Regions from separate parts of the Homo sapiens genome. Here region 2 is linked to region 1. Evidence: promoter capture Hi-C in human tissues and cell types (Jung and others, 2019). All regions are on one chromosome and are shown on one strand. Each heading gives the region's core, a stretch centred on a gene start or on the middle of the fragment in contact. The rest is flanking DNA. Distances are from core to core; before and after follow the strand shown.

What was found. The method cuts DNA at HindIII sites, captures the fragments that hold promoters and counts their contacts. A contact is called where the count stands out against the background at its distance.
Region 2: a fragment that was not itself captured here is called in contact with the fragment with the promoter of SP140L in region 1 in 3 of the 25 tissues and cell types used here (hippocampus, lymphoblastoid cells and spleen).

Annotation. Positions count from the first base shown.
Region 1 is chr2:230,325,199-230,329,074 of GRCh38, reverse strand. It overlaps SP140L (SP140 nuclear body protein like), which reads right to left and starts at 1,882. Exons shown (of 19, transcript NM_138402.6): 1 at 1,774-1,882; 2 at 244-318. The coding sequence starts at 1,805. RefSeq lists an enhancer at 1,739-2,208. The HindIII fragment of the contact is 8,396 bases long and covers 1-3,876 here.
Region 2 is chr2:230,587,419-230,591,246 of GRCh38, reverse strand. It overlaps LOC112268431 (a long non-coding RNA gene), which reads left to right and starts at 1,591. Exons shown (of 5, transcript XR_002959453.2): 1 at 1,591-1,749. RefSeq lists enhancers at 1,434-1,683, 1,844-1,993. The HindIII fragment of the contact is 6,376 bases long and covers 1-3,828 here.

The DNA of each region.
Region 1 (3,876 bases), core at 633-3,132:
GATAAAAGTCACCATATACAAATGTAAGGGACAAGAAAAGTATATTTATACTTTGCAGAATATTTAGTGAACTCTCCCATATCATGAAAAAAAGACAAACACCTCAACTGAATCACATTGGCAAAAAATAAACAAAAAAATTATGGAAGAGGAAATTTCAGTGGCCAAGAAACATGAAAAGCTGTTCAGCTTTCCACATTATCAGGAAAATACAAATTAAAACAAATTGTAATTCTTCATCACCTTTGCAGACTTTGGCTGTGTGCAGGAAGATGGTTCATCTCATTTGCTACTTGTGAAACACCTCCGTTCAGCCCCCTAAAAAGACAATTTGGCAGGATCTATAAACAAGTAAATAACAGCACCCTTTGCTTCAACAATTCCACTTTTTAAGGTTTAGGCACAAGAGAAATACTTGCATATGTGCAAAAAAAAGAGAAATATATAATCATTATTATAGCTTATTGATAAACGTGAACAATTTAAAACAATCTAAATGTCCTTCAATTGGAGAATGGTTAAAAAATTATGCTATGTAAATTCTATGGAATAGTATATGTAAAAAGAGTGAGGTAGATCTATATGCATTAAGGTGAAAAGATCTCTAAGATTTCCACCATTAAAATGAGTAGAAATGCAAAATGCAGAATAGCACGCACAATGTAATTCCATTTATTACAAAACGAGAACACAAATTATATGTTTACAAAAACATACTTCATACACGTAAATGCATCGAAAAATATGAGAAAAGTTATGCCGAAGACTCTTCACAAGACTGTGAAAGGAAGCTACAAGGCGAAGTGAGTGGTGAAGAAGACTTTTTCGTTTATACACTTCTCCACTGTTTGAAATTTTATGAGTAAGAATGTAATGTATTTCTTTTGTATTAAAAAATTTAAAAGATTAAAATCGCTTGAACCCAGGAGACAGAGGTTGCAGTGAGCCGGGATTGTGCCACTGCACTCCAGCCTGGTTGACAGAGTGAGACCCTGTCTCAAAAAAATGAAATAAAATAAAAAGATTACGTAATGTTATTTATAAACTCGTTACTAGAGAAAAGATAGGATTTCCATCTCTTTTCTGGTCAGAGGCATCCCCCATCTTGGGACAGGAAATTGAAGTAAAAATAAAAATATTTAGCTTTCTGCCATCCTGGGCCTTTTTCTTCTTTTTCCTTCTTTGGATCAAGGTCAATTGTATCAGAACTCACACCCTGAGTCAGTCAAGGAAATAGCCCCAAAGCTGACTGAGGCCCCTTGCCAAGACAGGTGAAACCACAGTTTCCAATGTTTAAAAGTAAGCCAGCTGTTTACCCTGGAGTGTCTATTTCCAAACTACCTTCTTTGACATGACATATGTGAAGGTAGAGAGGGCAGAGGGATGTGAAAGGGTTGGGAGATCATGAGGAAATGTTTGTTGAAACACAAACATATAATTTGTGTTCCTCATTCTCATGAGGAAATAATAACTCTCAGTCACAAATGACTGAAACGACTGTTCAGAGTGTCCCCGCCAGCTGAGCAGTAGTTTCAAAACAAGAAAAGTCATCTGTGTTATGGCAAGCTGGACTCACACAAACAGCTGTCCTGCTGCAGTTGTAAAAATCTGATTTCCTTATTACATTCTCTTTTATTCCATTATATTACACTACCTACCTATGTTCTTGCAAAGCAGGACTAAACTGAAGCTTTAGACAGAAACTGAACTACAGGCATGAAAGCTCCAATACTGCCAGAGATAAAGGTGAAAGGAAGAGAGATAAAGACTCACCTGGTGCTCAGGTCGCTGCCCCCACCTGCCATCGTCCCACCCTAGGCCCTGCCTGGGTGTCAGAGCCTGGCCTATGAGCTCCCCAGTCGGCCCAGCCTGCGTGCAGTGTGGCTGCCCTGACCCGGAGCAGGAAGTCGGCCGACAGACTGACTCACCCTCACAGATTTCTGCCCAAATGGGGAAAAGAAAAGTGAAAGTATTTATTTAACTTCCTGCTGGGATACAGACACCGTGTTTCTCCTCCTTTTTCACTCCAAGGGGTTCTCAGCTTTTCTGAAATGTGGCAGACGGTTGGAGGAGAGGCCTGACAAGCAGCAAGACCTGCAGGACCAGGGAAAGGAGGGCCCAGAGGACGAGCAGGGCTGGCTTCCGGGAGTCCACTTGCTTGTGCAATGGACAGCAAAAAAAAAAAAAATGTCCTTGAACCAAAATAGTCCTTAGCTGCTCTGCCCTCTTAAGAGGGGGCATAGTTTACATGGGAGTTGGGGGGAAAACTCCATGTTTGCCCCTTCCCCTTGCTGAAATGGCTGGGGGTGAGAGTTGGAGGGTTGGAGGGAAAGCCAGAAACTTCAAATCTTCTCTCAGGCCCATGGGAGAGCATGGACTGGACTAAGGTAGGTCCTGACATGGGGACCCAGGGCTGGAGAGAACCAAAATGCTCAGCATTATAACCTGGGGAGAGTGTTCTTAGCCTTCCTGGAAATCAGCCAGAAGTAAGAGAGAACTCTCCACACCCCTGGGACCAGAGGCTGGAGCCAGCATGGTAAGAAAGGCAAACATTTTAAGGGGCAAGGGTTTAAGGAATCTTGACTATGGGGCCACCTTGGAACAGCCAGGGATGAAGAGAGCTTCGGAGAAGTCACTGGAATCTTGAGAGAACAAAAGCTTCTCATTGGAGGAGGATGGAGGTTGGAACCCAGATGATCTAGACATGGAAGGGCAGGGTGGCTCCCGCGGGAGGTTCTATCTCTTCCCAGATTTTCCATTTAGATTCTGATTCAACATTCCTCAGAGAACAAGAAGCGACCGAGAAGACTCGCTTTACATCAGTATAAAGTCATAGGTAAAGAAATAGAAGCAAAGGGCGCATGAGAATGGGGCCACAGGACACAACCAGGGACCAGAACTCCAGGCTGGACCATGGGGCAGAGACAGGGAGGCAGCTGGGAGCCTGGGGGCGCTGGAATCCAGGGCCCAAGGTGAGCAGAGGGTGGAAGCTGGTGAGGATTCAGGGGCCAGAGGGGATGGTGCTCCAGAGCCATGTTTTCCAAATTACATTCTGCTGAATCCAACTTTTTCCAGCCCCCACCCCCAGCCATCTCAGCAAGGGGAAGGGGCAAACATGGAGTCCTCCCCCAACTCCCATGTAAACTATGCCCCATCTTAGAGGGCAGAGCAGCTAAGGACAATTTTGGTTCAAGGACTTTTTTTTTTTTTGCTGTTTATTGCACAATAGTTGGAAGCTGTGAATGCTTGTTCAGGTACATTTGAAAATACGAGGGTGGGGGGTTTCTACCCTGATTCTACTGGTGCCCTGCTTTCCCCAAAATGAGTTAATAAGCAGGTGCCAAGACACTGGTGAGGACAGCTTTTCCAGTGGGCGAGGTCACTGTTTCTATCAGGTACTGCACACCTGTAGGTCTCTCTCTCTCTTTCTCTTGCTCGCTCCCCCATGACTCCCCAGTTTTATGGAGGCACAGTGGCTGGTAAGCTGAGCATCTGTTGGGCACAGTTGTCCTCTGATCCCAGTCTCCATGGAGCACAGCAGCACTGACAAGGCCTGGCGCGGACCACACCAGTCGGCTCTGGCGTCTGCACTCACCCCTCTCACTGCTCTTGGGCAGCAAGCAGGCCCAGGCCACTGAGTGGCACTGACATATGTACCAGCTTTTCTCTGGGTGTGCTTAGGGGCTGGAATTCCAGACCAATGAGCTGGCTGGAAATCTGCAAGTGTTGACCTTTACAGGTGGACATGCCCTTGCTAGGGCAGCTCCTGACAGCAGGGAAGGAGATGTTCTTGTCAGACAGGGTTGGAAAAAGCTGAGCACACACCACACTCTGCAAAAGCAATGCCAGTTAATGGAGAATCTCTAGGCTTCTGTG
Region 2 (3,828 bases), core at 81-2,580, 260 kb before region 1:
GTTTTAGTTCATGTCCTACTTTCATTCTCTCTTTGCTCCAATTTATCTTTAACTTTGTACTGATACATTTCAGTATTTTAAAAAGTCACTTCAAATCTTTCTTGAATAATATCAGAGTATGAGTGAAAAAAATCACTGTGTACAAACATAAATGTAGCTGGATCTTCATCTCACCCCTTAAGACCTAGATAATCTTGGTTCTCATCCTCTTGGCCCATCCCATGAGAATCATTTCTGAGCTCCACTGCCTGGACATCTCTAGGTCATTGATTTTGTTAGGTACATTTTCTACTTCCCCATGACTGCAGGTGAGAGTTTTACAGAACTTTTACTACTATATAACAAGGGTCTCCTTCCTCCAGATTCCACTAGTGTTTCTCTCGCTTTCTCATACACTGCACTGACATCTTCTGGAACACCTTTAGGCTTCCATCCACTGCTCTGTCCCACAGCCAAATGCCCCATGTTTTATGTTTTTGTTATAACTGCATCCTACTTCAAAATCTGTTCTAGTTATACTACTGTGAAAAAAAAAACTACCCTAAAGCAGTGATTTAAAACAATAAAAGTCTTATTTTATTTCGTGATACACCTGCAGTTTGGACAGAGCTCAGTGGAGATGGTGTGTGTCTGCTCTAGATGGGTATCTCCTGGCAGCTCGACCAGGGCTGCAGCATCAACTTCCAATATGGCGCACCACATGGCTGGCTGGCTGGCTGGGGCCCTCCTGTGGTTTAAGACCTGGTCTTAATATCAGCATAGCATTGCTTCTGCCATATTCAAACATTCTGTTGGTCAAGCAGTCACATATCCCAGATTAAAGGAAAGGGGACACAGACTCCACCTGTCAATGGGAGGAGTGTCAAATTCTGGGGATATTTTTTAAAAGCCTTATATCTGTACTATCTTTAAAAGCTTGGCTATTTTTACCAACTTGGCTCCTGCCTCTGGCCCCAGTGGTCCAGAGGTTTCTCTTTTTCCTCCCTGCCTGCTTTCCAGAAATTTCTAAGGGCATTCCCCTGACTTTATGATGTAGAGCATTTCAGCTTCCTCCAACCTATATCCAAATGCTTGGGGTCTAACTTGTCCAGTCAAGGTCACAATGTGCCCCACCAACTCATAGGCCTGAGAAAGGCTTGGAAGTTTCTGTCTTTCCCTTTTTTTTTTTTTTCCCATGGCCATGTCTGCAAGGGGAGGAGGCAAACAGAGTTTTACTTCTCTCTAACATCAACTATGTTACTTCACCTAGAAACAACTTCAGTCAGCTTTGGTCAAATAGAGTTTTCTGCCCTCTTTCCTTTGCATAAACACATGATCCCCTGACTTCCATGGACTTCTTGGAGTTGGCCTCCTGTTCCTCCTCCTTGGCCTGTACCCTCTTCTGGTCCTCCAGTCATGATTCTGTAAGTCCTTCTTAATTCCCGGCTACCATATTTTCACAAGAGTTGAGAAACCCCACTATCTGTGGCCTAGTTTTCACAAATACAGAGGCATTCAGAAATATTAATACTTTCACTTCCCTTTTCTACTTTCTGGGTGAGTCAGTTCAGACTTTTTGTTCTGGTCCCTGGGAGCCATGTTGGAAAGCCCACATTGGGCCTGAGAGTTCATAGATGTTGACGGATGGTGTGTCAGCCCCCATGGGGCTCTGCAGCCTAGAAAGTAGCAGGACCAGGAAGTCAGCAGGTGGAGGTGGCAAGTGAACAGAGGATGCGTCTTTTTCTCCCTTCCTTTGTCATCTTTCTCCATGTGGGTTTTTATATTTATTTACTTATACTTAGTTTTATTCCAAAACTTCTTTGAACTGGGTCATAAAGCCAACTGCATATTGTAAAGTAGAAGAAACTAAGCTCTGAGAAATCAGGTAAAAAGTGGCAAGTGATAGCTGGTGATGGAACGCTACCTATCCTGGCTTACCCTTTTGCAAATGTTACCTGGGTGAGACAAAGACATTTGAACCCTGAGGTTTCTTGTATTGGTTTTGCTTTGTTTTTCTTGGTATAGACCTAGGAGTGTAATTGCCCGGTCATAGGGTGGCTTTAGTAGACACTGCCAGTTTTCCAAAGTGGGTGTCCTAATTGTCACTCCACTAGCCACGTATGAGTGTTTCAAACAGCATATTCTTCTCAACATTTGATGCTAGGTTTTTTTTTTTTTTGTAGATCTTAGCCATTTTGGTGAATAGATAGTGGTATCTTGGCATAGTGGTATCTCATTGAGCTTTTACTTTGCATTTCCGTGAAAAACAATGCTTTTGAGCACTTTTTGATATGTTTATTGGTCATTTGAGTATTTTGTTATGAAATGCCTGTTATTTTGCCTATTTTTTTAAAAAAAATTGGGATTTTTGTGTTCTAATTACTAGACATTCTTCCTACATGTTCTACATAGAAGTCTTCTGTTGGATATGTGTTGTGAATATCTTCACATATTCTGTGGCTTTTTTTCACTCTCTTAATAGTGTCTTTTGATGAACAAAAGTTCTTAGTTTTAAGTAAGTCTAATTTGTCAGTGGTTTCTTTCATAGTTAGTGTTTTGGGATCTTTTGCAAGAAATCTTTGCCTACCTTAAGCCAAGAAGATATTATACTACCTGCTCTAGAAGCTTTACTATTTTATCTTTCATATTTAGGTCTATGATTCATTTGAAATAAATTTTTGTGTATGGTATGAGGTAGGGTGTTCAATTGCTCCAACAATACCATTTCATGAAGTGACCATCGTTTTCCCCACTGAAATGTGGCGGTGTCTTTGTTGTAAATTTGGTGACCTTATGTGTGTGTTTCTCTTTCTTGTAGTCTCTGTTGATTTATATGTTTATCTTTATGCCCATATCATGTTGTCTTAGTTATTGTAACTTTATATGAAGTTAAAACATTGTGATTCTTTTTCAAGACTCTTTTGGCTAACTTTGGTCTTTTGCATTTTCATTTATATTTTAAAATCAATTTGTCAATTTCCACAAACAATTCCACTTGAATTTTATTAAAATTATATTGAATCTATGAATCAGTTGGGGATAACTTACATATTAATATTTAGTCTTCAATCCACAAATATACCTTTCCATTTATTTTGGCTTTCTTTAATTTCTCTCAGCAAAAGTTCTATGATTTTCAGTGTAGTGTTCTGGAACATCTTTTGTTAGATTTACCTTTATTGTTAGTGGTTTTGATGCTTTTGAAAAGGATATTGTTTTTCTATTTTTATTTAAACTTATAATTTGCTAGTATACAAAAATACAATTGATTTTTGCATATTAACCTTGAATCCAGATACTTTACTGAAGTTACTAATTAATTCTAATAGTTCATTTCTTTAGATTTTCCAAGTATATAGTCATCTGCAAATAATGGTAGTTACATTTCCTCCCTTTTGGGTTTATTCTTTTCATTTCTTTTTATCACCTGATTGCATTATCTAGGATTTCTAGTAAGTGTTAAATGGAAATGGTGACAGTAGACATTTTTGTCTTGTTCTCAAATTGAGTGGGGAAGTATTTAGTATTTCACATTTAAGTATAGTGTTAGCCATAGGGTTTTGTTTGTTTATATACTTCATTATATTAAAAAAGTTACTTTCTATTCTTAGTTTTCTGAGAGTTAAAAATCATGAACAGATATTTTATTATATTTTAGCTTTTTCTGGATCTATTGAAATTATCATATATTTTTCCCCTTTATTTTGTCAATCTGGTGATATACATTTCCTGATTTTTTTTTTTTTTTTTTTTGAGACGAGAGTCTTGCTCTGTTGCCCAGGTTGGAGTGCAATGGCACAATCTTGGCTCACTGCAACCTCCACCTCCTAGGTTCAAGCAATTCTCCTG